Linked DNA regions of Homo sapiens: regions 1, 2, 3, 4 and 6 are each linked to region 5. Evidence: promoter capture Hi-C in 16 types of primary human blood cells and fetal thymus (Javierre and others, 2016). All regions are on one chromosome and are shown on one strand. Each heading gives the region's core, a stretch centred on a gene start or on the middle of the fragment in contact. The rest is flanking DNA. Distances are from core to core; before and after follow the strand shown. Region 1 has its middle 17 kb from the start of FUCA2. Region 2 has its middle 3.7 kb from the start of PHACTR2-AS1. Region 3 holds the start of FUCA2 (alpha-L-fucosidase 2). Region 4 overlaps PHACTR2-AS1 (PHACTR2 antisense RNA 1). Region 5 holds the start of ZC2HC1B (zinc finger C2HC-type containing 1B). Region 6 has its middle 30 kb from the start of PHACTR2-AS1.

Region 1 (4,872 bases), core at 597-3,096, 340 kb before region 5:
GACGGGCACCTTAGCACTCCCCAGCAATCTCTGAGGAGTGAGGACATGGAAGGAGGGATTTCTGGGTTGTCTTGGAGATCTACTCAAAGGACGTTGTGAAACCTAGGTGTTCAACAACAAATAAATAGATAAAGAAAATGCGGTGTATATATACCATGGAATACTATTCAGCCATAAAAATGAAATCCTGTCATTCGAGGCAACATGGATGGAACTGGAGTCCCTTATGTTAAGTGAAATAAAGCCAGGCACAGAGAGTTAAACACCGCATGTTCTCACTCATATATGGAAGCTAAAAAAAGTTTATCTCACAGAAGTGAAAAGTAGAGCAGAAGATACTAGAGGCTGGGAAGAGTAGAGGGAAGGAAGGAATAGGAACAGATTTGTTAAAGGGTACAAAATTATAGCTAGACAGAAGAAATAAGTTCTAGTGTCCTATACCATTATAGGATGACTATAGTTAACAATAACATATTATATAGTTTCAAATGGCTAGAAGGAGGATATTGAATGTTCCCAACACAAAGAAATGATAAATGTTTGGGATAAGGGATATGCTAATTACCCTGATGTGATCATATACATTATATGTATTGAAACATCGCTATGTACCCCACGAATATGCACAATTATTGTGTGTCAATTAAAAATAAAGGTATAAAAGAAAAAAAAACCCATGGCTGAGTGTAGCAGGGATGGAAGGAGTCCCTAGTGAATCACTTGCCTTCAATGAGAGAGTTAGAGTCACAGAAGCAGCAATTGCTGAGGCTAACACTCAAGATAGTCCCCTCCTGTCTTCCTACACTCATAAGCCCAAAAGTTCTTGTTTGGTTCAAGACAAGGAAGGCATCCTGGAAAATGTCTTTTAGGCAATGTTTGTAGAAGGAGCTGAGCTAGGTGTGATTTATAGAAACAAAGAAATAGAATGTGTATCCTGAATGTCTTAGAGCAGTGCTCCTACTACATGCCATTCATTACACCCAGTGCTTTATATACACGAATTTCAATCCTGAAAACACCACCACAAATTAAACGTATGCATTACTTAGGGATCAAATTGAGGTATCAAAATTGAAGCAAAAGACAGTGATGCTGATCACATTTCTTCTGTGCCTAAATCTTTTTACAGGCCTCTGTTTCACATTCCAGCACGTCCCCGCTCTCCTCCAAGCCTCCAGCCATACTCACCTCCCTCCTCTTCGCTTCCATTTTCCTGCCTTGGGCCCGCATGCATGGTATTTTCCCTGCCTGGGATGCCTTCCCTGCCTCTTCCTCTTTTTTATCCCTACTCACTTGTATAAGCCACTTCTTGTGTCCTGAAACTTTTCCTGACTCACCCCAAAAGGGTCAATTATTCCCTCCTTTATCTCTCCACTGTAGTTTGTACACCCCTGTCTCCTATGCTGCTAGTCCAAGATTAGAGAGATTCCTATTCACTTCTGTGTGCCCAGCACAGAGCCTGAGCCTGTTAGGACATAGTAGCTGTTTTAATTTATTTATGTTTTATTGTATTTTTAATTGACAAGTAATAATTGCATATATTTATAGCATACATGAAGTTTCAAGGCATGTATAGATTGTGGAATGATCAAATCAAGACAATTAGCCTATCTATTACTGCAAATATTTATCTTTTTTTGAGATGGGGTCTCACTGTGTTGCCCAGGCTGGAGTATAGTGGCTCAATCATGGCTTACTGCAGCCTCAACCTCCCTGGGCTCAGGTGATCCTCCCACCTCAGACACCAGAGTCTCTGGGAGTACAGGTGCACATCACCACACCTGGCTAATTTTTGTAGTTTTTTTGTAGTGATGGGGTTTTGCCATATTGCCCAGGCTGGTCTTGAACTCGTGGGCTTAAGCAATCTGCCTGTCTCAACCTCCCAAAACTAGGATTACGGGCGTGAGCCACTGCATCTGGCCCAAATATTTATCATTTCTTTGTTGTGAGAACACCTAAAATGCTCTCTTTTCATTATTCCACAAAATGTATATATTCCAAAATATGTATAGTCACCATGCTGTTGCGATACAGCACCAGACCTATTCCTCCTCCCGTCTGACTGACTGAAACCCTGGACCTGTTGAGTAACATCTCCTCTTTCTCCATCCACCCCATCGCACCCCAGTCTCTGATAACCACCATCCTACACTCCACTTCTATGAGTTTGTTTTAGAGTAAGAAGAAGAAAGGAAGAGTGGGAGGAAGAGAGCATGGTAAAGGAGGTGTTTACTTTTGCAGCCTGGTACTCTAGAGGGAAATGGTGGGATGGGCTCAAAACTATGAGCCAGCTTTGGCCTCTCTCATAAAATGAATTCATCTTCGATTTTAAAATGAAAACAAAGAAAAAATTTCACAGAACCATCACATTCCACACCAGAAGAGGCCTTAGAGACCATCAAAACTAACTTCCTGTTTTTTGTTTCTCTCTCTTTTTTTTAAGTGACTTTAAAAGCAGGCCTACTTTCACTATCAGATGGTGATTTATCCTCACTCTGCTGATTACCTGGATTCCTTGCCTTTCTCTTATTTCATTTTCATCGTGTATCGTCAATTTTGATCTCTGCCGTTTCTTTTCAGATAATATTTTGATCTTTCTCTTACTTGCAGTCATTTTTATCTGCCTATATTAAGGAAATGCTATTGTCAGTGAAAGACACTTAGTTCTAATGCCAAGTATTTTGGGAAAATATTTCATAAGAAAACATACCATATTTTTATGTGCATGTTTTGCATATAAACTCTGAGAAATAAAACTTTTTAATATATTTGGGGGATGGGGAAGATAGCAAAAGAAAACTGCAATTATAAAAATAATTAGTTAGAAGGGGATGGGTATTGTCTCAAGGAATGCCTTCAGGAAGTTTTGATTTTAACCAGAGTGTCACACCTGTTTCCATTACCATGAAAAATCCACATTCATGCATCTAAAGACTACTAGTGATGAAATAGGGACAAATTCAGTTACAAAGGTCGTTTAGCTCCCTAGCTTGTCTAATTTATGAAATGTGGATAGCTTTCATTATGTATTAAAGCCTTTGAATAACAATTCCTCCTTCTGTAAGTGAATCTGCAATGTATAAAGAGCCCTCCAAGTGGCACTGTGGCTTTAAGAGGGGCTCCTGGCACAGCAAGGAGGAGGAAGACACTGGCCAGAGATGAGACAGATCCCAGCCCACATTTGGGCTCCTGCTGAAGGCAGTGTTCCTAGCACTGATGGGCGGAACAAGCTAGTTGATAAATTTTCATTTATTTCTTTTATAATCTTACATAAGTCATCACTTTAAAGAGAGTGGTAAAGCAGTGAGGTACAGTTTTTTTGTTTCTGTTATTTTTTTTAATTTTATTTTTGGTATTAAACACTCTTATATGATTAAAACTATGCTTATTTCATCTTCAGTTTTTATCCCTAACCTTTTGGAAATGGTATTCAATGAAAATAGCTAAATAAACTAATAGAGTTTAGAAACATTTTGCTTTGAAAAGCTGTACTGGATGCCTCTTTTTTTAAAATCAGTGTCAAACAGGCACATTTCCTACGTGCTGGCCAACATGTCCGTGGTACCAAGGGACAAGTCTAAGGAGAAAGAAATCTTTTTTTTTTTTTTTTTTTTTTGAGACGGAGTCTCGCTCTGTCGCCCAGGCTGGAGTGCAGTGGCGCGATCTCCGCTCACTGCAAGCTCCGCCTCCCGGGTTCACGCCATTCTCCTGCCTCAGCCTCCCGAGTAGCTGGGACTACAGGCGCCCGCTACCACGCCCGGCTAATTTTTTGTATTTTTTAGTAGAGACGGGGTTTCACCGTGTTAGCCAGGATGGTCTCGATCTCCTGACCTCGTGATCAGCCCGCCTCGGCCTCCCAAAGTGCTGGGATTACAGGCGTGAGCCACCGCGCCCGGCCGGAAAAAGAAATCTTATAGCATAGGTGGGACAGGATAAACAAAACTGGAAGTAAACAAAACCTCAAATAAGCAGGATGCCTAATCATTTTAGGATTGCATAGACTTAGTGGTATTTGAAAAGTGAATCCTAGCCCACCTTTGTCCACCTCGTCAGGTTCAAAACTGAACTACTCCCCACAGGGTTCCTCTTCTGCAGTGCTACATTACAGCATCCAGAGGAGCCCCAGGTCCTCAAGGCTCTGTCCTTGCAGATGACCTTCCTCATCCGGGGGTGCCTTTGCATTGCAGACACCACATCCTCTGGGAAGCCTTCCCTGGTTCTCCACCCCAAGCGGGTTAGGTGACTGCTCCTCTGAGTTTCCTCAGCCCTTCTACATAAATCTCAGTTTTGTCAGTTGCCATGGACTGCCAAGTAATTATTTGTTAATGTCTACTCCCCAAATAGACTTCATTTATTGATTCATTCATTCAATACACAGTGGTGCTGGGAAAATAAAGGCAAGAATCAGTACTTACTGTCTTAAGGTAGCTCAAAGGGAGTAGGGGTGACAGATTAGCACCCCAGCCACTGCAATCCTGTGTAAAAAGTGACATAAGAGCCTGATGGTACTGTTTAGGATGGGCACTTCACCTGGCTTGGAGGTTGGGGAAGTGTCAGGAAAGCTTCCTGGATGGTGCTGTGGTTTGAATATTTGTCCCCTCCAGAATGCCTATACATTGCTGGTGGGAATGTAAATTAGTACAACCTCTTTGGAAAACAGTGTGGAGATTCCTTAAAGAACTAAAAGTAGATCTACCATTCAATCCAGCAATCCTACTACTGGGTTTCTACCCAGAGGAAAAGGAGTCACTGCATGAAAACAACCCATTCACGTATATGTTTATTGCAGCCCAATTCACAATTCCAAAGATATGGAACCAACCTAAGTGCCCACTGACCAATGAGTAGATAAATAAAATGTGGTATATATAC
Region 2 (4,984 bases), core at 639-3,138, 290 kb before region 5:
TCAGCTCCCAGAGCTGGTCCTGATGAGGTGACTGGCAACTCACCCCAGGTGTGGCAGGCCCCTCCCCACTCTCCTGGGGCTCTCCCTCTCCCCGCTTGCTCTCCTTCCCTAATCCCCACACCTTTTTATGAAGATCAGTCCTTTGCACAGCAGCCATGGCCAGCGTGAGGTGCATGTGCAAGTGGAGAAGTAGCAGGTTCATCGACTCGTTCTGGTAGGGGGCCTCTATCTTATTGAGCACACTTTTGACGGTGGAGATGCCGCTTTATTGCAAATCCCTCCCCGGACTCCTCCTCTTCTTCCAAAATTCAGGCTGAAGACAATTGCCCTGATTCCCTAACCTAAGGGATGGCTCTGCAAGTGGTGATCGATGTTTATCAAATGCCCCTGAGACTCGAAGACGCAAATTATATTCCTATTTTTCATGAAATTTAAAAAACTTTCTAATTTAAGATCATTTAACTTTTAGCTGCTGCAAAACTGGTACATGGAGTTCTCGTATACTCTTCACCTGGACTCCCCAAATGGTAATATCTTACAAAACTGTAGTACAACGATGGAAATCAAGAAGGGAATGTAGGTAAAGAGCAGTACAGTACAGTACTTCTAACTAATCTGCAGCTGTCATTCAAATTTAGCCAATTATCCCACTAACAATTATCATTGTTAGTAACAATTATCATTGCGGTGTTTGTCAGATGGTGACTTTCTAGTTATCATCCTTCTGCATTTATCAATTGGAATTCTACTACAATGAAGAGCTACCTCTTCTGAGCTATTTATTCATTCAGTTATTTATTTGTATTAGTGTGGTCTCATGGATATTTCCTTTATCCTATAATCCATTACTATCTACTTTATTTCTTTTTTTAGAGACCCTCCAGCTCTGTCACCCAGGCTGGTGCAGTGGTGCAATCATAGCTCACTGTGGCCTCAAAGTCTTGACTGAGCTCAAACAATCCTCCCACCTCAGCCTCCTGAGCAGCTGGGACTACAGGTGTGCACTGCCACACCTGGTTAATTTTTTTTAAAATTTTTTTATAGAGATGAGGTCTTGCTATGTTTCCCAGGCCGGTCAATCATCACTCATTTTGTTGCCCACATTGTTGTACAATTGGCTATCGAGAGTTTGGTACAAGTTTACTCCTGTGTCCATTTGCCATGCTCCCATCATTAAAAAAATCATTTCCTTACTTTCTGGGACCACAAGACGTTCCAGACTCATCTTGTGTTTTCTCTGTCCCTGCTTTAGAATCAGTCTTTTCTCCTATGAGCCCTGCTTTCAGTATTATTTTAATGTTAGATTTATAACGTTCTGTTCATGTTCTTGGAAAATTAATATTTACCATATGGGAGATCTCTATGTAGGAGATATTAGATATTCTTCTACCATCTACAGAACTGATTTCTTATGAAACACTGGTCCCAAAAACATGTCAGATTATGAGGAGCATAGCCTATTTTGATACATATGCTAAAAAATGGGAAGCCACACAACTAGGATTTTCACCAAAAAATCTGTTTTACTCTTTCTTGCTTCTATATTTCTTTTTAGTAGGTAACTACAGGTCCAATATCTTTTAGACTTTTTGTTGTTGTAGACTTTGTTTTTTGCTAAGAAATTCTTTTGGCCCCGTGTAAATATCTTCTGCAGTTTAGCTCCTCACTGGCTTGAATTCTCCCCTCATCATATTTTGTCCTGACACCTTCCCTCTTTGCTGAATTTTTGATAACAGCATCTCTGTTTCTCTGGATCTCATGACAATTTTCCAGTCAATCTGATCAATATATACAGCCTCAACACTGAAGTGAACCTGAAAGTTTCTTGACCAAAACTAGAGTCTAATGCCTCCATCAAATATATCCCAACTATATATTTTTTCAAAATAGAATGTGTGTGAGTGTTTGTGACTATGTGTTTATTATAGATTGATTCATACTCAAACACTAACAGTGGTTTTTTTGTTTGTTTGTTTTTTTGTTTTGTTTTGGTCATTGTGGTTGTTGTTGTTTTTGAAATGGAGAATCTCTCCATTGCCCCAGGTTGGAGTGCAGTGGCACGATCTAGGCTCATTGCAACCTCCACCTCCCGGGCTCAAGCAATCCTCATGCCTCAGCCTCCTAAGTAGCTGGGATTACAGGCACATGCCACCACACCCAGCTAATTTTTGTATTTTTGGTAGAGACACGGTTTCACCATGTTGGCCAGGCTGGTCTCAAACTCCTGACCTCAAGCAATCCACCTGCCTCTGCCTCCCAAAGTGCTGGGATTACAGGCATGAGCCACCGTGCCCAGCCAACAGTGGTTTATTTTCTTTTGAAATTCACAAATCTTACTGCTATGAATCTATTATCATCAAATTCTAAAAGCATAATGTCTTTTATCTGTGGAAGTTTGGTCATCATCAGATAAGAATCCAAAATAAAAAATGAAATGTTTTTTACTTTCTAATTTGAAATAATTCTGTCCTTACAAAACTGGCAAGACTAGTACCTAATGTTCTCATAGACCCTTCACTGGGTATATGTATAATTTTCTTATATATTGCATTTCATTGTATATTACATTCGTGATCTTCCTACTCAGAACTAGTAGGGTCATGTGGTAAACATCTGTTGAAAATGCCTTAGTGTTATATTCCTGTGGGGAAACCACCTCTAACCCACATTATCAACCATGTGATTTAGAGAGATTGACCCATTCTTTGTTCCTGGGCTTTACTTGGCTTTGGCCAGTCATCAATGGCTGCGTGCTTGGTTTAAGGGTGTGTCCTTGATCCAATTCAGGCCATCGAGATGCATGGAGACTTTCACTAGGTCTTATGGAAGTTTCTTCTCTATTCCATGGAGGTCCCTGGATGCTACATTATTATGTTTGTCATCCATGGGAGCCAGCCCAACTGTGAAGGTTAAGAGAGAAGAGCCTAGAGAATTTCTGAGCTTTGAGAATGGATGCAATTAAGCCTGAGGCCAGCCCTACCTCCAAACCAGTTTTGTGAACCCATGAATTTTCTTTCCCTCCTTTTTTTTTTTTTCTAAGTATTTTTGATTTTGGTTTTCTGTAGCTTGGAAAAGTTTCTGTTGATAACAGATCTTTTTCTGTGCATTCTATCATGTTATTTGTCCCTGTGTTGGCACTTATCTTAGTTAATTATGTGGCTGTTTTTCTTCAACTAAATTATGATGTCCTTGAAACTGTGGACTAAATCACTTACCTGCCTTTCTTATATTTGTATGGAGCTTAGTCCTTCCATTTAGCAGCACTCTGAGGGCCTAATTTCCACTAGGCCCAGAACTGGGTCTGGTTCTCCATAACTGTTTATGGAATCGTGAATTTTATTTAATATGCTACCTGTTTTCGCTTTCTATTATTGCATAGCAAATTACCACAATCCTAGTGGCTGAAACAAGTTACAGGTTCTATGGGTCAGGAGCCTGCGAGCAGCTCAGCTGGGTTCTCTGCTTAGGGTCTTGCCAGGTCACACTCAAGGTGTCAGCTGGGCTGTGTTCTCATCTGGAGCCTGACTGGGGAAGAATTTATTTTAAGCTCATTACACCTGCAGGCAGGATTCAGTTCGTGCAGCTGTGTGGCTGAGTGCCCCTGGTTTGCTGGCTGTTCACTGGAAGCTGCTAGAGGCTCTCACTGTGGGCTTCCTCAGCGTGGCTGCTCAGTTCCTCAAGGCAGGAAGGAGAATCCCGGTCTCTAGTTCACTAAGGCAGAGTCTTAGATAATGTAACATAATCACAGAGTGGTGTCCTGTTCCCTTTGCCACATTCTATCGATAAAAACAAGTCACAAGTTTCATTTACACTCAAGGCTAAGGGATTGTACAAAGGCATGGCCATTGGAGGTCTGTCCTCCATGCTACCTTAAAAGTTCCTGTTCAAAGAGTTTTCTTTAAACATAAAAGTGGGTTCAATGTCTCTCAACATTGATACCTCTCATAGTAGGCAATTAGATTTTTAAAGTTATAACTATTTTTTTTTCTACTCAGGAGTGGCATTAAGTTTGCTTGAAATTTCTTCTTATGATCACCTGTATTTTATTTAGGTTGAATCGTTTTGCAAATACTGGTAAAATGATTCCCCGGAATGTGTTTAACTTTTCAAAATACTTTTATATTCTTTTGATGGCATTAAAAAAAAAAAAGCAGTGGCTCTGAGTCAGTTATGTTGGAAATTTGATGTGAATATTTTCCAAGAGCCCAAAGGACTAAGGACTGTCTCCTATAAATATTTCATTTTTGTTCTAAATCTAACAGCTGGCCTTCTCCTCCTCTCCCCCAATTTTTTAAAAACTAAAGGCGTGGTGTAAAACAGCAACAACAACAACAACCTCCTACACTCCTTTACCCAAAGTAAAAATTAACACGTTAATAGACTTGTGAAATTTGGCCAGATTTTCCTTTATCTATACAGAATTCCTAGATGTTGACTGGCAGATTAGATTTCTCAGTATTTACTTGGCTAGTTAATTGTAACAAATAATCCATTTGGAACATAATTAAGAGATGATAAACAAAAAATAGGCAAATAAATAATCATCAACACTCCAAAAACATTTTCAGCCAGTTATTTTCTTGCATATATTTTCATGTTTTTAATGTTTTACTTTACATCTACGAATTAATTTCTCCATATTGTTTATACATAGTCTTTGAACATCATGATTTCTATCCGTGGTTCATAGTTCGATGAGATAGCTTTCTCTTTTACAAAAAGTCTTTTAAAAATAACTTACCATATTCCTATCTTTAGGTTTTAAACATCGTTTTACATAATTTGTGTACTTTTTTATAAGCACCATGTCTTAATTTTCTAGCACACCTGGAAATGTTATAATGTGACTTAGTCTTTATATGAATGATCTGTCCTTTATATTCTTGATGATGAACTATCAAAACGCCAGTTTAGAGGATGGCTTTCAGAAAGATGGACTTGGAGAAAAAGCGCTCCCTAGCTGCTGTTTTACCGTGTGGACACT
Region 3 (4,465 bases), core at 185-2,684, 350 kb before region 5:
TTGGATGTATACTATTTATGTAGTATATAGTTGATTCAAATAAATACTGTTTAATGATTCCGTTCTTTTACTTAAGAATATATTATGTGTCCCAAAGTCCTGGAATTACAGGTATGAGCCACCGCGGATCACCTGAGGTCAGGAGTTCAAGACCAGCCTGGCTAACATGGCAAAACCCCGTTTCTACTAAAAAATACAAAAAAATTGGCCAGGCATGGTGGCGTGCGCCTGTAGTCCCAGCTACTCAGGAGGCTAAGGCGCGAGAATCGTTTGAACCCGGGCGGCGAAGGTTGCAGTGAGCCGAGATGGTGCCACTGCACTCCAGCCTGGGTGACAGAATGAGACTATGTCTCAAAAAAAAAAAAAAAAGAATATATTATGTGTATGTTTCTATATATGCACACAAAATATTTCTGTTTTGAAGGACTTAATACTTGTAGCATTTAGTCAGAAAAGACATGTGCAACAGTTTAAGAAATTACATGCACATTTTCACATAGATCTCAAGGTAAAATCTAACGCACAGATTTTTGTGTAGCACCTTTCATACGGCAGTATGATAACTGGGTTGTGTTAAGAGTACCATTCTAGAACCTCTTTAAAAAGTTCCTAGAGCCACACATGGGTAACATGTTAACATTAAGTAGCCAATGGTGTTCAATGAACAGTCGTTTCACATACTCATGACTATGTTTTAACCATAACTTCATGGCAGAACGACTGTAAATTGGCAGGTAGCAGCAGAGCAACCATAGGCCATTGTGCCTGAGTCACCGCTCGTGTGATGCCCCTGCACAAACTGATGAATGTCTGTAGTAGCTCGATGTTGTAGTGTCATAACTACAGCTTAATATGCGCAACTATGAAGAAGCTGAGGAGTCAGGAGTATCTGAAAACTCTTACAGTCACACGGAAGAAAAATTCCCTGTTCATCCAGCAGAAGCACTTAGGCAGGAAACCACATATTCGACACCCGGAAGTGCGAAACGCGGGTAACGCAGTGGGAGGTGAAACCGACGAGGGTGCAGGCAGCACCAGGCGGCGAACCAGGCCCGCTGGGTGGTGGCTGGAGGCTGCGGGTGGGGACAAAAGCGCGGCAGACGAGACAAAAGGGAGCGCACTCACCAGAACCACTCGCTACCGAAGCTGGGCACGGAAAACACTCCCCAGTGGATGAAGATGCCGAACTTGGCCTGGTCAAACCACGCGGGCAGCTGGCGGGCGTCCAGGGACTCCCAGGTGGGGTCGAAGCGCGTGGCGCTGTGGGCAGGGCACGGCGGCGGCGGCAGCAGCAGCAACAGCAACAGCAGCAACGGGAACGCGAGCCTGGGGAGCTCCTGGGGCCGCATGTCCCGGCGCAGGCCGGCTGTCCTCTCTGCAGGCTCCCGCGGCCTCGGGAGCGCTGTTCTTCCGTCTCTGCCGCTGAGTATGCCGCGCCGCGGTCACCTGACCAAGTCGGACTTGGAAACCGGCCACCCTTCCCCCTCTGGGGCGGGAGTGGCCACTCTCCCGGGCGTTCCGAATGACCTCAGGAGGGCTGCATCGCTCAGCATAACTAAGGCCAGCATTACCCCAAAGCCAGCTGGGACGGCTTTGCTAAGGCTCTGTCCTCTTGAGGGGAAAATATGAGTCTGAGTCAGGGCCTTGTGGCCAGCGCCTCTGCCCTCAAGCAGACACGACCCTGACCAAGAAACTGCCCAAGAAGACAATGCCCCCAGCCCACCCTGGTGGCTGCTCCACACGTCCGAAGCGTGCACGAGAAGGTCAAGGCAGGAACTTCAGCCGGGTCTCGCCATGATGGAACATGGAAAGCAACCTAGATCCTTCTCGGCCTCTGTATCAGCTCCCAAGATCCTGCATGTTAGAACCGTGGTTGTCAACCTTGAATTTGTATCAGATGAAATTCCAAGAGCTTCAGATTCAGCAGTTAGGTTGGGGCCCAAGAATTTGCGTTTCTACCCAGTTCCTACTTCTAGGATGTTCTGATGTTGGGCCGGGCGCGGTGGCTCACTCCTGTAATCCCAACACTTTGGGAGGCCGAGGCGGGCGGATCACAAGGTCAGAAGATCGAGACCATCCTGACTAACACGGTGAAACCCCGTCCCTACTAAAAATACAAAAAATTAGCGGGACGTGGTGGCGGACGCCTGTAGTCCCAGTTACTCGGGAGGCTGAGGCAGGAGAATCGCTTGAACCCGGGAGGCAGTTACAGTGAGCAGAGACGGTGCCACTGCACTCCAGCCTGGGCTACAGAGTGAGACTCCATCTCAAAAAAAAAAAAAAAAAGAAAGAAAACAAAATTGTGATGTTTCTGATTGGTGGTCCAAACTTTCCTGAGAACCACTGCATTGAACAAGGAGATGATCTGAGACAGGTGAAACCAGTGGAATGAATGTTTAAGAAACCTGCAAGCTTGGGAAAAAAGGCCAGCAACTTGGAAAGATTAATCAAAAGGATATTTGGGAAGCTTATCACCTCCACCTCTTGTTTGGTTTGTTTGTTTGTTTGTTTGTTTGTTTGTTTGTTTGTTTTTGAGACAGAGTCTCGCTCTCTCGCCCAGGCTTGAGTGCAGTAACATGATCTAGGCTCACTGCAGCCTCTGCCTCCCGGGTTCAAGGATTCTCCTGCCTCAGCCTCCAGAGTAGCTGGGACTACAGGCACATGCCACTGTGCCAGACTAATTTTTGTATTTTTCTTTTCTTTTTTAGTAGAGACAGGGTTTCACCATGTTGGACAAGCTGGTCTCAAACTCTTGACCTCAGGTGATCTGCCCGCCTTGGCCTCCCAAAGTGCTAGAATTACAGGCATGAGCCACCAAGCCCAGCCTCTCCTCCACCTCGTAAGTGTTTTCAAAGTAAAGCCAGAATCCTCAACTGCTTCTGCCCCCATGAAATCATTACCCTTCAATGAGCCAATTCAAATGCTGCTTCTTTTGTGAAGCTTTCTGCCACCACCCTTCCCTCCCAGAATGTTGTACTTTCCCTGATCTGCTTCATAACACCTCCTTCCAAGCACACATAGGATTTCACGCATCCTCTAGTAGCTAGGTGGTACAGGTCTGATTTCCCATCAGACTGTGAGCTTTTTGAGGGCATTCATAATGACCTTCTTTTCTGTAGTGCCTACAATTACAGCAGAAAAGCAGCACTCAAAATGTTTGTTGAAGCTCTCCAGTGAACTGGGGTTCTAATTATTGAGTGAAGAACTTGACACTAAGTGGCTGTTGCCTGCATTATCCCAACCCATCTCTGCAGAGAGATGGGAGCAGCAGAGGGCGCTGTCACTGCAGGTGTAGGGGCATTTTTCCTCTCCATGACATGCCAGATGGCCCCCCGGGGCCACAGCTCCACCGTAAGAGTCCCCAATTTTGTTTTGTTTTTTTACAGTGAGGGTGTTCTAGAGGAAAGGGCTCAACGAATCCAATTGCAATAGCTCCAGTTTGTGATAAAGATGACAATTTTTTTTTATTTGAGACAGAGTCTGGTTCTGTTGCCCAGGCTGGAGTGCAGTGGCACAGTGTTGACTCACTGCCACCTCCACCCCCGGGGATTCAAGCAATTATCGTGTCTCAGCCTCCCGAGTAGCTGGGATTACAGACCCCAACCTCCAGCTAACTTTTGTATTTTCACCATGTTGGCAAGGCTGGTTTTGAACCCCTGATCTCAAGTCATCCTCCTGCCTCAGCCTCTCAAAGTGCTGGGATTACAGGCATGAGCCACGGTGCCTGGGCTGACAAATATTTATTATTGAGTTTGTGGAACCCAGAATGATCTAGGGCCTCAGTGGCCACTGAACCCTGGGGCACACTTGAACAAAAATATGGGCTTCTCAGCCACTATGCCTTGACATCCTCTCTAATCAGAAGTTTGTGTAATAAGTGCAAAAGACAATATTCACAGTGACAATGATACTGTGAACTGCCATAGGGAGAGTAGACATGACTGTGGTGACAATGCAGCGGCAGCAGGACCCTGTCCTCTCATAAGTGGGCATCCTTTCCCCATGTGAACACCACATAGCAGAAACGCCCATCTTCCAAAGCCCTTTTATCATGTTATGAATTATTTACACTTCCATATATTTCAGTTAAAGAGTGGTAATCAGATCTGTATGGATGCCACTTGGGTCATTTGTCATTTCACTTGAAGGCAAAGAAATGTTTTTAACTGGTAAGTACAACCTTATCATAAAAGTCTATTTTCTGTAAGAAATACTGAAAATATATTAAAGACCTCCCTTAGTGCCCTTCAGGACACATAAGAATCCTAATATACCAGGTTGGGAACCATTGCTATAGGATTTGAAAGGAATAGTAAATAGTATTATCTGAAAGTGAAGAGGAAGAAGAGATTCTACTTAAAAATATTTGTTAAATGACTGAAAGAAATAAATCTATGAAGTCGTTTAGAACATGGTCCTTTAGGGAAAGACCTGCCTGCTGTAGATTCCATTCACATTTTATACG
Region 4 (4,425 bases), core at 885-3,384, 310 kb before region 5:
TATTTTGACAGTTTTGAGTTTTCTCAGACAGGCACTTTAAGGTGAGTTAAGGTCATTCTAGAGATGCAGGCCTTGAGCTGTTAGAAACTGTATTCATGTTTTATTCGAGTCTCTATAGGCTGAGGTTGAGGCCTAGTTGAGAAGAGGGCTCAGGGGAGCTGACTAGAGTTTGATCAAGAAAAGAGTCTTGCTGGGAGACAGAGACAATACACAAACTAAATAAACAATATTAGATGGTGATTACAAAGCAGAGGAAGGGTATAGGTCGTGCCGGGGTGAAGGTGTGCAGATTGCAACCTTAAGTATGGCAACCAAGGCAGGCCCCACTGAGAAGGTGGCATTTGAAGAAAGGCCTGAGAGAAGTTAAGGGGTGATCCTTCCAGGCAGAGAGAAGAGCAAGGGCAAAGGCCCCAAGGAACAGAAAAGAATCCCGGGTTGGGCCCCTGTAGACCACCGCAATGACGTTGACATTTTCTCTGAGTGAGACTGGGGATCCAGTGGCGGGGGCGCTGGGCAGAGGGGCATCATGTTTTTTGATACAAATGTAGAAAGCAAAGTTTGGGAGATAACTATTTCATTCATATCAATATCAACTTAGGAGTGAATCCACAGTATGCAGGGCTATGGTGTCTGCTTCTTCTCAGGAAGGGACAGTAACTAGCCAATTGATGGAGATTTTAACATTACGTGGAAGTAGCTAAACTAATTGAAGACATTTAAAAATGTCTTTACCTCCAACAATTTGCTGTTAAAAAATTATTCGATGACACTTGTTCAAGCACGGTAAGGCAGGTTTTATTTAGGACCATTGCAATAGGTATAGGGACCACTGCTATCGATTTTGTAGTCGGGGAGTGGGATTGGGCTCAACTCTGAATGTAACAGGGAAAATAACTTATAGCCAAGGAGCAGTGTATCTTGCTCCTTGGCTATAAATTACAAGTGGGTGTCAGTGGATGGAAAATTACTAAAAGGAAACGTCAGCGTTAGAGCAGTCTTGCTGAAGACAGGACAGGATGATCAGCCCTCACCTGAGGAAAGGTGAAGGGCTAAGGAACTCGATTGAGGGTGGGAGTTCTCGGTAAACCAATTTAGCAGGGCTTTTGTTAAAACTGTATTTTACGAGGAAGTGCCCAGATGGGCCTAGAAGATCCAGGAGCCTGACTAAAGCTTGGTCACTCAAATAATCTTTGTCACTGCCAGTCTAAGAGGTCAAAAGTGTAATTTTGTCTTTCCCTGATTACTATTGAACCTAGGAAATATTTTATATTATTAGCCATTTGCATTTTCTTTCTCTGTGGTCTTCCCAGTACATATCCTTTGCCCTTTGTTCCTGTTGCATTATTTTCTTAACTCTTGGTGTGTTGAGTTGATAAATAATCCTTTGTGGTATATACATTGGAAGTATTTTTCTGCTATTTGGTTTTCTTTCATTTTGTTCTTAGGACGTTTTGTTACTCAGGAACAAATCCAGTTTTGATGTGTGAAGGTGTGTGTTTCCATACACATACGGAGGATTTACAAATATGCTGTAGATGTCTGTATTTGCTTTGAAATGCCCTTCAATAAAAACCATCCCAGCTTCTGTGATTCTTATCTTCCCTTTTTAGTGTGGGAGGCTTCCTGCTTTGCTTTGTCTGCACATTTACGTCGAGCCTGCCGAGCTTAATTTTAACCTGGGGAAAAATACAGAAGAGAAGCTATTTTCAGTCAGGTCATATTACTGAGAACACCTGTGAAATTCAGGATATTTTCTTGGGGGTAAGTTAAAATGTAGGACGCCACCTTGCCTGAAGCACATTTCTATTGTGGTTGCTGTACAAATTGGGAGGTGTTACTTGGAGCCAAAAACCTTATCACTTTCACACCAGCACTGCTTCTAAGTTGCATGCCTCCAACCCTCAATCCTTGGTATTAATTCTGAAACAACTAGTATAACCATCTGTTGAAAAGTTCTGTGGGAAAAAAAGGGGTCTTTGTGGCCTGTGTTATTCACTTCCCTGATGATCAACACAGAAATATTTTACATTTTGGTTATCAGTCTATTTTTTCCTGCTTTTCCTCTTGCTCCAGTTTGCCTTCCTAAATGTCTGGCCATAGGCAAATAAAATATACCCCCACCCTAGATGATTATGGTGTCAAAATTCCCTTAATCACACAGTAGCCCCAGCCAGCTGTTTGAGTAATATTTTTCCTACCTCATCGTGTGAATTGTCTTATTGTTTTGGTGAAATGTTGACGCTACCACCTACTCTCATCCTCCCACCTCCATTTGCAGATAAAATCTAATTATCACCTCAGGATGGTTTCTTGACATACAATATAATCACCACCGACACAAAAGAATTTAGGGCACTATGACATTTAGCTTTTTTTTTTTTTTTAAAGACTGTTGTTCAAAAAAATGATCCTTTTAAATTTGCTATTTCACAATTAATTTTTTTAAAAAGAAACAGAAAAAAAACAAAAAGAAAAGAGACCAAACCTTTTACTCTTAGTAATTAATCTATTTGTAGTGTTACATTGAAGGTAGTAGCAGAAGGGACAGTGAAAACTCATGATGGTTAAGAAATTAACAAAGGAGCATGCTTTTAGGACTTCAGGCAGGGATCATTACTAAAGTCCCTAGCTTTGATTAGAATTTTGTGATACCAGCTACTGTATAATTCGGCCCCAGTTCATTTCAGACTTTCTTCCTTAAATTCATTTATTTATTTCAGGACATTAAGGTATGGACTTTAGGTGTGGGGCATCTCCAATGCTCCTGCGTGCCAGGCACAAGGCGTGGGCCAGGAGAGTGAATATCTGGTGGAGGGAGGTGAGGAATACAGGAAGTAGTGCATTTTACTAAATGGAGAAAACATTGAAGGCAGCCAGCTTGATAGAATCATCAAAAATAAAAATTGAGGCATATAACAAAACCAGAAAGTACATTCATAACTCCGTATGTCAAACTAGAGAGAGGAAAGTGAAAAAGATGAGAAAAAATATTTTGAGAAAAGTTGACTAGCTCCTCTGCAGTGACAGCATTCAAAAAATCAATCTAAACGCAGCCCTAGAGCAGCAATTCAGCTTCCCAGCTTGGAGGACTCTAGGTTTGAAGCTTTCAGCTGCTATCAGATTTGAACCTCTCAGCTCACAGGGTGCTAACTAGAGGAGAAGGAAGACGTACATCACCACAGGACCACAGCGACGCATCACCATGGAATTTTCAGACTCAACGCACTGGCCACACCATGGGGTCCAATTGCTGCCATTTAGAAAAGCATGCTTTTAAAGTGTGTCATTTAAGAGTAAGTATTCTTTTTTAAAAATATGGGCCAGGAACTAATAAAAATGATGCACAAAGACGTGAGAAGATATGCTGCCTGTCTGTCCTCCTCCCTCAGAGAGACCACATTTCCTTTTGAAACAAAAATGAGGCCAGAAAGAAAGGGCCTCCCTCCCTAACCCCAGCCTCAGTTAGAGAGGGCCACAGGAGCTCGCCTACCATCTCTCTCCAAAATATGTTCTCCATGTGGTTCGGCAAGAGGATTCACTTGGTTTGACAAACTTTTCCCTTTGAAGAGTAAACACTTCCTGAAGGGTTAAAGGCCAGGTAATGGCCATTCACATTATTTTGCAAGTAAGTTACTTTAATCATCATCATCACTAGTATTGCAGAGAAGTTTAAAAGGATTCTCATCTCTCAACCATATTTCATCCTCATAACCTTTTGAATCCAGTGGGACTTTTATTTGCCCCATTTCACAGATGGGGAAAGTGGAGAGGGAGGTAAATCATCTTGGGTCATACAGCCAGTAAGTGCAGAGGCAGAATTTAAAGCCAAGTCTTCTGAGTCCAAGTTCAGGGCTGCTGCCGTAACCCCATTCGTTGCACTCCCACATTTGCTGGAACTGGAGCTTTGGGTGGGATTGGGGAAGGAGGGAAGAGAAGGTCTGGAAGTGTTGGAGGTGGCATGGGCAGGGAGGTATACCTTCCTGCTAAGATGGCTCACCCTCACCACACAGGGTCTCGATTTTTCGAGAACTGACCGGACCATGTGGACCTGGTCCAGCTCTTCCAGACTCTTCCACACTCCAGTCGTTTTTCCTTGGCTGACTTCTTTCTCCGTAAGGTCTTGTCGCGAGTCCTAGAGGCAACCAGTTCCTTGCGTACCCCACCCTCCTTCGTCAGCATGCTGCCACCTTTGAAACACAGGCGTGTTGTTTCTTTTGCCTGAACCCCAATAGAAATGTAAAAGTTGACACCTTGTCAGTGGGAAGCGAAGTCAGGTCATGTTCTTGAAGGTAAAATTAGGCCAGGGTTCTACGGAATAAGCTGGAACCATCTTCCATGAGAATTGTGCTTTTTTTCCCCCTTTGCTTTGTTTTGTTTTCTCATTCCTGCCTCAGCAATACCCTTGAAGGATGGATGGGATCCTTC
Region 5 (5,152 bases), core at 1,077-3,576:
TGCCAATGAATGAGCTTGATGAGTCTGAGGAGGAAGAAATGATTACTGTAGTCCTTGAAGAAGCCAAAGAGAAGTGGGATTGTGAATCTATTTGTAGTAAGTATATTCACTTTATGATAGTAATTTTAAAGTATTAAAGTATATCAACTTTAGGCTGGGTGCGGTGCCTCACGCCTGTAGTAATCCCAGCACTTTGGGAGGCCGAGGCGGGTGGGTCACCTGATGTCAGGAGTTCAAGACCAGCCTGGCCAACATGGTGAAACCCCGTGTCTACTAAAAAATACAAAAATTAGCCAGGTATGGTGGCAGGCAACTGTAATCCCAGCTGCTCGAGAGGCTGAGGCAGGAGAATAGCTTGAACCTGGGAGGCAGAGGTTGCAATGAGCCGAGATCATGCCATTGCACTCCAACCTGGGCAACAAGAGCAAAACTCTGTCTAAAAAAAAACATATATCAACTTTGAAAAAATACATATATTTTAATAAGAGTTAGGCTTTTAGGAAATTTGTGAAAAATTATTTGGAAAGAGTAATATTCCAATACTGAGTTGTAAGCAATTTATAAAACATTGATCAGAGACTCCAGTGTTATTTTGCACTATGAAAACACAAGGTCAGAAATATAGTAGGAATTCAGTAATGCTTTGTGGAACTGAAAACATGCTTACTGATACATGACTTTTATTTGTTTGTTTAGGTACATACTCAAATTTATATAACCATCCACAGCTTATCAAGTATCAACCAAAGGTAAGTCCTAGTGTGCTGAGCTATTTGAAGGATGCAGTGCATAAAAAATAGAGTGCACATTTTCGCACAATAACTTTTTATCTTTATGGCTAGAGTGATATTAGAAAAAGCATCAACAGTATGTCATTAATGAGCTATTTTTTAATAGGAATGAGAAGTAACTCTAGTACCATTTTATCTGTATTTCAGCCCAAACAAATTCGAATATCTTCTAAAACAGGAATACCTCTCAATGTCTTACCAAAGAAAGGACTCACAGCAAAGCAAACTGAAAGAATACAGATGATTAATGGCAGTGATCTTCCTAAAGTATCAACTCAGCCACGTTCTAAAAATGAAAGCAAAGAAGATAAAAGAGCAAGAAAGCAAGCTATAAAAGAAGAGCGCAAGGTAAAATATATTTTTCAAATGTGAGATTTACAAAGAGCTGGTGGAGGGGAAATTAGGGGAATTTTGTAAAAGCAGTCTGTATCAGTTTAAAGATGTGAATAATACAAGTATATTCTTGTACTTATAACAGGAACGAAGAGTGGAGAAGAAAGCTAACAAATTAGCATTTAAACTGGAGAAAAGAAGGCAAGAAAAAGAGCTGCTGAACTTGAAGAAGAATGTTGAGGGTCTAAAGCTATAGACAGTGGAGCATACAGGGCAAGGCACTTTATTAGGGGCTCCTCATCTTTGGTTATTGACTAGAAACTTCAGAAAGACAAAACTGTTTGCCATTTTTACTGGCAGATAAGAGGAAAATACAATATTTGTATTATTTTTATACTAGTAAGTGTCCCCTGCCAACCATCTTGTAAATATTGTAATACTTTAATTTTTAATATTATAAGCTTACATTTGCTCTGAAGTAAATGACTTCATGAATGTGAAATGTTTGATAAATTAAAGGAAAATATCTTCATAACGTGAATGGAATTGGTGTATTCATTTATTTGTATGGTTGTCATAGTTGTTTTTTGCAGATGTTTTCAAATATTTCTTTGAATCCTCTCCACGCCTTTTCAGGAATTACATGGTTTAATTTGCTGTAAATAGAAAAGTGGCCTGGTTAAACTCAATTTTGAAATGCTGACTTTATTCTGTTTAGTGTAAGATGAGTTTTTCTGAGAAGGTTCCACTGTTAGGAAGCTAAGTTTTCCCTTGCTGTATACAAAGGACTGTTTCAAAAGTGTGGCAAAACTGAATATTAAGGTTCTTAAGATTCATATTTCCTGTTATATTACTGGATGACTTGCTTTTGGGATTTAGGAACAGTGAAGGCAGGAAACAGAATAGTCAAGGAAATAAGAAAACTTATTTGGCTTCAGTGAGTCCCTAGTTCAAAATCAGAAATATTTATTTCAGTTTAAACTGGGGAGTTTGTCTTTTCAACATCAGTTAATGCTTGGAACCATTCATACTTGATTAAAATACATCGTTGAAAACTTTCCCTGTTTTTGATGAGTTGATTTTTGTTTTAACTGATTTAAACTTTTTCAAGGTTTAGGCAATGACATCATCACAATTGTTGATTATTTGGTAAACTATGACTTCTTGCAACAGATTAGTGGTCCTGGTTTATGTTCTTGACTAGTATGATGTTATCTGGACTGGGCTGTAAAAATCTGTGAACACTGTTGCTCTGAGTTAGGAACAGAATGGCTGGGGCAGAACCATTTTTGGCAGGTGAGCTGCACTTGATATCTAAATTATTAGAAAATGCCTTCATCTGTAATCATTCATTTATGGCTTTTCCAAAGCTGGTAGGTATTAGCTTGTTCTACCATGTGTGATCCGTTTAAATCTAAGTATTGTAGGATTTTTAAAGAGTTGTCAAAACTGATGGCATTAGGTATTCTACCAACATTGGCTAGAAAAAAATCTTGACTGAAGAGCTTGTCATTGCAGAAGTAGGATACTGGAGAGAATGTATTTAAATGCCAACCTGTGAAGTAAAGGGTCAGATGATGGTTTATGTCAATATTGAGAATGTAAGTACTAAAAGGATTGGCCATTTATTTTGATAGCTGTCTCAACTGAAGATTCTCAAAAACAGCAAGAGTCTTAATAGGCATTGGATGTTTCTTTGTCATGTTACTCAAATTCTGTGTTATGAGGTGCTAACTTCACTGTGTTTAAATCCATATATTATATATTTTGCAATTAAGAGAAAAAGACTAGGCCATGAGTCTTGATGAAGCATATTGTGATTTAGGCAGGTTATACTCCAAACTTAAATATTTTAATTTTATTCTGAAGAACAAATTCATGATACTTTAAATGAATTTTCTGATATCTTGGTTCTCTAAAAATCTATAAATGATGATTGGGAACTGAACATAAAAGCTCCATGCTAAATGTTGGGAGCCCAAGAGATCAGAGGGTTTTTGCCTTCAGGAGCCACATGGTCTGAGGAGGCAGGATAGGTGCAGCGAAATGTAACTGGCAATACTATCGTGGTAAGTACCACTTGTAATTAGAATCTTGGTACTTGCTGTTCCCCCAGAAGTGCTTTCACTGCAGACAGACCTTCCTCATGGTTGGTGCTCAGCTGTAACCTTCACTATAGGCTATTCCCTGAGCTTGTATTTAAAAATCCTGCACGCATCCCTCCCCTGCATCCTTGACCCTCCTTCCCTGGTTTATGTTCTCCACAACATCTGTTGACGCAGAGGACTGTTTTTCAGTCTCCTCTCGCAGGACAAACCCTGAAGGCACAGTGTTTTATTTATTGCTTTATCCTTAGGTCTGGAAGGGTGCCTGGCATTCAGTATACAGTCACAAAGTAGTGTATGAATGAATGGATAGATGGGAAAGATTTCAGAAAAGAATTAAACATAGAACCATAGCAGGGCCTAGAATCACTGGGGTTAGGGAGGAGAGAAAGGCCTAAGAGATCCAGGCAGGGGGCAAAATCTTGAAGAATTTGTATCTTAAACTTTTTTTTTTTGCCAAGACAGGTCTTGCTCTGGCGCCCGAGCTGGAGCGCAGTAGTGCGATCTCATCTCACTGCAACCTCCAACTCCCGGGTTCAGGCGATTCCCCTGCCTCAGCCTCCCGAGTAGCTGGGATTACAGGTGTGCACCACCATGCCCAGCTAATTTTTGTATTCTTAGTAGAGACAGGGTTTCGCCATGTTGGCCAGGCTGGTCTCAAAACTCTTGACCTTATGATCCGCCCGCCTCGGCCTCCCAAAGTGCTGGGATTACAGGCATGAGCCGCCAACACCCGGCCCACCTATTTTGTTTAAGCACTGCCCGTGAATGGTGTAAAACCACTTGGATATCATAGTACCACAGATGCTCCTTGACTCGTGGTGGGATTATGCCCTGATAAGCCCACCATAAGCTGAAAACATGGTAAGCCAAAAATGCATTTACTACACCTAACCTACTGAACATCATAGCTCAGCCTAGCCTACCTTAAACTTGCTCAGAATACTTTCCATTAGCCCACAGTTGTGCAAAACCATCTGGCAATACAGCACGCTGTAGAGTTATCAATTTGCCCTCGTGATCACATGGCTGACTGGGAGCAGTGGCTCACCACTGCTGCCCAGCATCACGAGAGGATTGTACCACTTTCTACTGAATACATATGCTTTCTCACCATCATGGAAAAATTGTTAACTTGAACCATCATAAGTTGAGGACTGTCTGTTACTTTACAAGTCTAAGTGTCTGAAGTGCAGTTACCGCTTGTGTCTATTACCTGTGATGCCCTGTATCTACATCTCCATTTTGATGTCATCAAGTCACCTCAGTTGAAAGAACTCTAACCTCTTGTAACTTTACTGTTACATTTTCAATAATTTTATGTTACTTCTTCATGTGGGTTGACATTGGTATGCTTTATCAGTCTTGTTCCAGTTAAAGGGCAGAGAAGGTAGAAATTCTAATGGCCTTGCATTTTAATTGTGAAACTTACAGGAGAATATTTAAAGCAAACACAGGGCCACTGTTCAAGTTAAGAAATAGAACATAGAAGTCCCCTGTGAATCCATCCTTGATTTCATTTCACTCTTTCCCCTCAGGTAATTCTTGCATAGTATCCAGCTGTCATAGAAGTTGAACATCTCTAATCCAAAATCCAAAAACGTTGAGTGCCAATGTGAGACAACAAATAGAAAATACCGTGTATAAGTACTTAATACAAGCTTTGTTTCATGCACAAAAGTATTTAAAATATTGCAAAAAGTTACTTTCAGGCTGTGTGTGTAAGGTGACATACGAAATAAAGTGTTTAGACTTGGGTCCCATCCCCATGATATCTTGTTCCAAAGTCTGAAAAAAAATCTGAAACACTTCTGGTCCCAAGCATTTTGGATAAGGGATACTTAACCTGCATTAAGTATTTCCTTCTTTTTTAAAGCCACTTGTATAGTATCCTTAAACACAACATCTTGTTTCATTTTGAAC
Region 6 (5,134 bases), core at 2,090-4,589, 260 kb before region 5:
TATGCACATCAAGGTCACATTCTTCTGCTCTATACTCTGGATCTTTCTACACTTGGCATGTATTTTCCCCTCTGTGTTCTCACGCTCCACACTGTGGAAGAACACATTCTCTTGGGAAAACCCATTGTAGGGAGGGACAGGAATGACTTCCAGGAAGATAGTTGCTCAACCTAGCCTCCAAGAAATGAAAGACATACCATTCGTGAGCTGCTTGCTGTCCCTCCCTTGAAGGAATATTGAGGTGGTCTAGGGTATCTCAGTGGTTTTGCTTTTTTGCCTTGAGCAGTTGTACGGAAACATAATACTGGCTTCCAGGTGAGTAGTAAAGACCTCATGCATTTTCATTAAATGTGATTTCTTTTATTCAAGGTGAATATCATCCTCTACCCACAGACCATCCTAAAAATAAAGTGAAATCCCTACTCTCTACAACCCACATGCCAAATGTGAGCAAACATGTTTGGAATAAGGTGTATTACATATGTCATCTTTGCAGAGTTCAGTTGTAATTTGTCCTGGACTCTTGGATTCCTCTTCTGCTGTCTGTTTTTCCTGATGGGAGCCAGTGATAAAAGGATTAAGGAGATCTGATTCCCCCTTCAAACAATACATGGTTCCATTTGTGTTCTAGCATAGAGGTTTTTAAAGTCTTTATTCAGCATTGACCTAAACACTTCTTCCTTTAAGCCACTGAACATGCTGGACCCAGGCTTTGGAATGCCATATAGAGCTAGATTATTGGAAATCCTCCAGGTCCATTATATTGACATTCTTTTTTATAATTTCGCTACCATTTTATCCTGAGAAATTCTCTTTCATTACCTGCTCAAAGCCCATTGCTGGTGCCCTTCCTGATGCTCCTCCTACCACCTGCCATATTTTCTACCTGTTACTCAGCACGCAAGACTTCAGGTGCACCTACGGAAGTAGCGGTGGGGGCTTTGGCTGTTTCTGAGCCTGTTCCTGGGGAGAGGCAACTTTAGTTAAGGTGACTTGATGCATGTAGTTTGTTAAGACAGTGATGATATAGTAGGTCGAAGAATGCCCCCCGCGCCCCCAAAAAAGAACCATATCTTAACCCCTTAAACCTGTGAATATGTTACTTTACATGGCAAAAGGGACTTTGCAGATGTGAAGACGTTAAGGATGTTGACTTAATGATCCTGGGCGAAATGATCCTACATTATTTGGCTGGGCTCAGTGTAATCACAGGATTCCTTATAAGAGGGACAAGAAGGTTAAAAGAGGAGAAGGCAATGTGACAATGAAGACAAATTTTGGAGCAATGAGGCTGTAACCAAAGAATGCAACTGAGCCTAGGAGGTGGAAGAGACCAAGCCAGAGCCTCCAGAGGAATGCAGCCCTTCAGAACACCTTGATTTGAGCCCTACAAGATAAGACTAATTTTGGATTTCTGACCCAGAACCATCAGAGTAAATTTTGGCTGTTTTAAGCCACTAAATTGGTGGTAATTTGTTACAGTAGCAACAGGAAACTAATACTGATGAAAAGATAATAGGAAAGGAAAGTAAAAGCAGAAGTGTGGGCCAGGGAGGGATCGCAGTCATCTGATGGCAAAGCACTTCTCTAAGAACAACCACATGGCTTCCCCTTCCTGGCCTATGTCCCTGTGGATATGTTAGAACCTGGTTAACCTTGACTGTTATCCAGTGCCTTTCCTGGCTTTGTCCTTCGTATCAGATGCAGATGTTTTATCTCCTTTTTTTATGGCTCCCAGGAACTTTCTATGACCCCCTTAGAGGAATCACTAGACCTCATGTCTCAAAGACTAGCTAAGTGTTTGCTGTGGTCCTAACAAGTCCACCTAGAGCCATTTAAATGGCTGGCATTGATGCTTTCTGTTATCTGTTCCAGGTTTAGTGGCGTGAATAGTAAACATAGTAGATTAGTCCTTTGTAATTAAATTTAGATAGCATCTCACCCCTGACTCTTTTAGAACAATGATGGCAGTGGGAGGAGTCAGAGAGGTCAGTCCCCAGTTAAATCAGTCAGGCATTTATTGATGACCCTCTGGGTACTCAGCGCTTTGCTCTAGGTGTCCTAAGCTGATCTGAAAAATTGGGGTCACCTCCAATTCTTTTTTCAATGAAGTCCTGGATAAGGAGACAAAAGCAGAATGGTGAAAAAGAATCATTCTCTCAATTAATCTAAAGCCTATGTGTTAATACTCTTTAAAAAAATAAAACTACTAGATGGCAAGTGTACTTTCGTAGGAGAAAACTAAACTTTCATTAGGCTATTTAAGGAGATCAGGCAGAAATTGATTCATGAGAGAAAAAAGTAACATGCTTTTTAGGCATTTTTAGGAATTTTGGCCCTGCCTGGACCACACTGTTTATTGATTCATCCATCACTTATCTGGTCATGTATTTATTCTAGAAACAATTGTTGAGTACTCAGTAGTGTTCTGGGAGCTACGAGGAAGACCTTGACAAGATTTCTACGTCTTTCATGGAAGCAATCAATACATGTTTGATAAGAAGTAACCCAACTTAACAAATGTCGTATTACTAAAGAAATGCTTATTAATTTAAATTTAAGTCAAGCAGAGCCTAGAATACTTGTTTGATGAATCCCAAACAGCCTACGGAGGAAATTTTTTGAGTTGCAAAGGGTGCTTCCCTTGCTAGCCTATAAGAACAGCTCATTAAGATCCAACCTATACCTTTCCCCCTTTCTATGCTGTATTAAGACATACCACCCTTTCTTTATAGAGTCATGAGTCTGCAAGGGATTTGAGAGGTCAGCAGGCCATTCTGCTGACTTGGGCCCAAATGCTTTCAGGAGCCAGGCAGGCCATGTAAGTGTGTGTAGCTCAATGTGAGACAATTGGGAGTGGTGGAAACTTTGGCAAACTCAGAGCAGATGCCTTGTCTAAAGCTTTCAAGGTTTGGCCTGGCCAAATGATCATGTCAGTGAGCTGGATTTGATTAGACTACCAGTTGGCAGCTCATGATTCTAATCTGAGAAAACAGTAGTCTGACCCTTTCTTAAAGTCTACTAGAGAGAATCACCTTTTTGAGTATGGATAGCAGGCTGCCCGCCGTCCGGCCGGCATGAGCCTGCCAGCCACATCATTGGAGGGGAACTTGCTATGTTATTAGGATGGGTACCCATCATATTTCCAACTAACTGGTGGCTTGTGGAGAGAACTTGTGCAAGCTGTATATTCCTGAAGCAGCTTCTCTGAACCAGTTTTTCCCTTTGTTTGCTGGTTTTGTAACAGTAGACTCATCCATAAGCAGCTGTAACTGCCCTTTAAGCAACAGGCTACCCCTTTGGCTGATCGATATGTTCAGAAGCCCTTTTTTGCCAATAGTCAGCACCATGTCAAACAGATGCCTTCCTCTGCATTCCAGTGACCTGGTGGCATTGCTGCCAACTCAATAATTTTTTGAGCATTGGCCATAATAAAGTATAGGTACAGTTCTTAAAAACTATTTTTAAAAATCCTTGAAGTGATAAATAGATTGAGCTAAATAATGGTAAGCATATATCCTTCTGCTTTGATTTACAGATTTATAATTTAGTCTTCCTTCAGGAATAATTTTTAAATGCAGCCATCTCCTGGAATTTAGAAAGAGGCCTGTATCTCAATGCCTTTTACAGGCAGTAATTCTACCATGTTTATTTTCATACCAAGACTATTGAGTGCTATTGAGGGCGAAGTGATTGTTTTGTTTAGTTTTGTTTTGTTTTGCCAAGGCAAAAAGAATAGCTTTAAACATTTCATTAGTCAAATTGAGACAGAAGCCTGAAGCTTTAAAAGAAATTATGCTTTTGCATTGAAAGCAGAAGTTCAATAAAATAAGATTCTATAAAAAGAAGTTGGGCCTATACATTGAGCCTGGCCATTCCTGGTAAATATTGTAGAATGAAGAGATGACACATGAACATGCTACAATACGAAAGACCTGAGTTTGAATCCAGATCTATCATTTGTGCATCTTGAGGCACATTTCTTAACCTCTCCAAGCCTTAGTTTCTTCATCTATAAAATGGGAATAATAATAGTACCAAACTCATTCTTGCTGTTATGTTTTAATGAAATAAATGCATAAAGAAAGTATTAGGCACCGTGCCTGGTAAATAGTCAATGTTCAAAAAATGAAAGCTGTGGTCTCTGGCTTGAGACTCAGATACAGGTGTCAGTTGTGGGTTCCAATTCTGGAGGAGAAGGAAGAAAGCCCAGAATCTTCTTTGAGAAAATCAGAATCTTCTGGAAAAAAAGGCCGTCTTGGGATGGCCTTTAGATCTGTACAGGTTGCTGGTCAAAGTGTCTGATGAATTGATTTTCACTGCAATGGCCAGAGCTTCCCCAACATGTTTTTGCAGGGCCAGGCCAATGTTGAGCCTCCTTCTCAGAGGGCTGCTTGCAGGTTTTTTTAGGAGTACAATGCTGGGCTAAGGCACACTAGACTGACACCTAAGAAATCTCATTTAGATGTCAGAATTTGCTTCCTAAGCACTCTTGGGTTAACTGGTTTTATTAGAAAAGCTAAACATATTTCACATATTGAGGAACCCTCTCTCTATGACTTTGGCAGAGTTCCTTTTGTGCCTTTCACGGAGATAGGCTTTTTAGTTTTCCAGCCACCAGGGCATTCACTTTGAGATTCATTGCTGAGTAAGTGCCATCTGTGTGGACTCCTGGGTCCCAGATGGTCCTTTGTTTTTGCTCATTCTTCTGCATTGTTACTGTAAGAGAAATACATTCCCACGCTTTTTATGTATTAGCAATCTTAAAATATTTTGGAATTCAACTCATGCCTTCATTTTCAGTGGAAGGTCTTTTTTGTTTGTTTGCTTGTTTGTGGTTTTAATTTTTAAAAAATTTTTAATTATTATTGATACATAATAGTTATACATATGGGTTACATCTGATATTTTGATGCAATCATACAACTTGTAATGACCAAATCAAGGTAATGGAGATATTCATTGCCTCAAGCATTTATCATTTTTTATGTTAGGAACATTCCAATTCCACTCTTTTAGTTATTTTGAAATATAAAATACGATTGTTAACTATAGTCACCTCATTGTGCTGCCTAACATTAGTTCCTTTAGTTTTGTTTTCACTCTCGCTCTCCCCCTCCCTAATAGTTTTATG

What was found. The method cuts DNA at HindIII sites, captures the fragments that hold promoters and counts their contacts. A CHiCAGO score of 5 or more calls a contact.
Region 1: a contact is called between a fragment that was not itself captured here and the fragment with the promoter of ZC2HC1B in region 5, in 1 of 17 cell types (megakaryocytes). The highest score is 5.1, in megakaryocytes.
Region 2: a fragment that was not itself captured here is called in contact with the fragment with the promoter of ZC2HC1B in region 5 in 6 of 17 cell types (M2 macrophages, M1 macrophages, M0 macrophages and 3 more); the score reaches 11.9 in M2 macrophages.
Region 3: the fragment with the promoter of FUCA2 here is called in contact with the fragment with the promoter of ZC2HC1B in region 5 in 3 of 17 cell types (M2 macrophages, erythroblasts and M1 macrophages); the score reaches 6.5 in M2 macrophages.
Region 4: a fragment that was not itself captured here is called in contact with the fragment with the promoter of ZC2HC1B in region 5 in 4 of 17 cell types (M1 macrophages, erythroblasts, megakaryocytes and 1 more); the score reaches 7.6 in M1 macrophages.
Region 6: a contact is called between a fragment that was not itself captured here and the fragment with the promoter of ZC2HC1B in region 5, in 5 of 17 cell types (erythroblasts, megakaryocytes, M2 macrophages and 2 more). The highest score is 9.2, in erythroblasts.

Annotation. Positions count from the first base shown.
Region 1 is chr6:143,526,183-143,531,054 of GRCh38, forward strand. No RefSeq gene overlaps it. Among named protein-coding and RNA genes, the nearest start is that of FUCA2, 17 kb to the left of the region's middle. The HindIII fragment of the contact is 5,428 bases long and covers 1-4,560 here.
Region 2 is chr6:143,570,555-143,575,538 of GRCh38, forward strand. It overlaps a transcript of PHACTR2 not described here. Among named protein-coding and RNA genes, the nearest start is that of PHACTR2-AS1, 3.7 kb to the left of the region's middle. RefSeq lists a silencer at 4,899-4,948. The HindIII fragment of the contact is 7,387 bases long and covers 1-4,984 here.
Region 3 is chr6:143,510,286-143,514,750 of GRCh38, forward strand. It overlaps FUCA2 (alpha-L-fucosidase 2), which reads right to left and starts at 1,435. Exons shown (of 7, transcript NM_032020.5): 1 at 1,126-1,435. The coding sequence starts at 1,349. It overlaps LOC105378035 (a long non-coding RNA gene), which reads left to right and starts at 1,500. Exons shown (of 4, transcript XR_007059796.1): 1 at 1,500-2,491; 2 at 2,709-4,465. RefSeq lists a silencer at 668-871 and enhancers at 1,072-1,734, 1,294-1,423, 1,534-1,713, 1,735-2,395. The HindIII fragment of the contact is 2,651 bases long and covers 1-2,410 here.
Region 4 is chr6:143,553,555-143,557,979 of GRCh38, forward strand. PHACTR2-AS1 (PHACTR2 antisense RNA 1) reads right to left here. Exons shown (of 3, transcript NR_027113.2): 3 at 561-1,676. It also overlaps a transcript of PHACTR2 not described here. Among named protein-coding and RNA genes, the nearest start is that of PHACTR2-AS1, 14 kb to the right of the region's middle. The HindIII fragment of the contact is 1,933 bases long and covers 1,169-3,101 here.
Region 5 is chr6:143,862,148-143,867,299 of GRCh38, forward strand. ZC2HC1B (zinc finger C2HC-type containing 1B) reads left to right here and starts at 2,327. Exons shown (of 8, transcript NM_001013623.3): 1 at 2,327-2,420. The coding sequence starts at 2,393. It overlaps LTV1 (LTV1 ribosome biogenesis factor), which reads left to right. Exons shown (of 11, transcript NM_032860.5): 8 at 1-96; 9 at 697-749; 10 at 939-1,139; 11 at 1,270-1,665. The coding sequence ends at 1,380. RefSeq lists a silencer at 4,331-4,531. The HindIII fragment of the contact is 3,305 bases long and covers 1,584-4,888 here.
Region 6 is chr6:143,597,040-143,602,173 of GRCh38, forward strand. It overlaps a transcript of PHACTR2 not described here. Among named protein-coding and RNA genes, the nearest start is that of PHACTR2-AS1, 30 kb to the left of the region's middle. The HindIII fragment of the contact is 880 bases long and covers 2,900-3,779 here.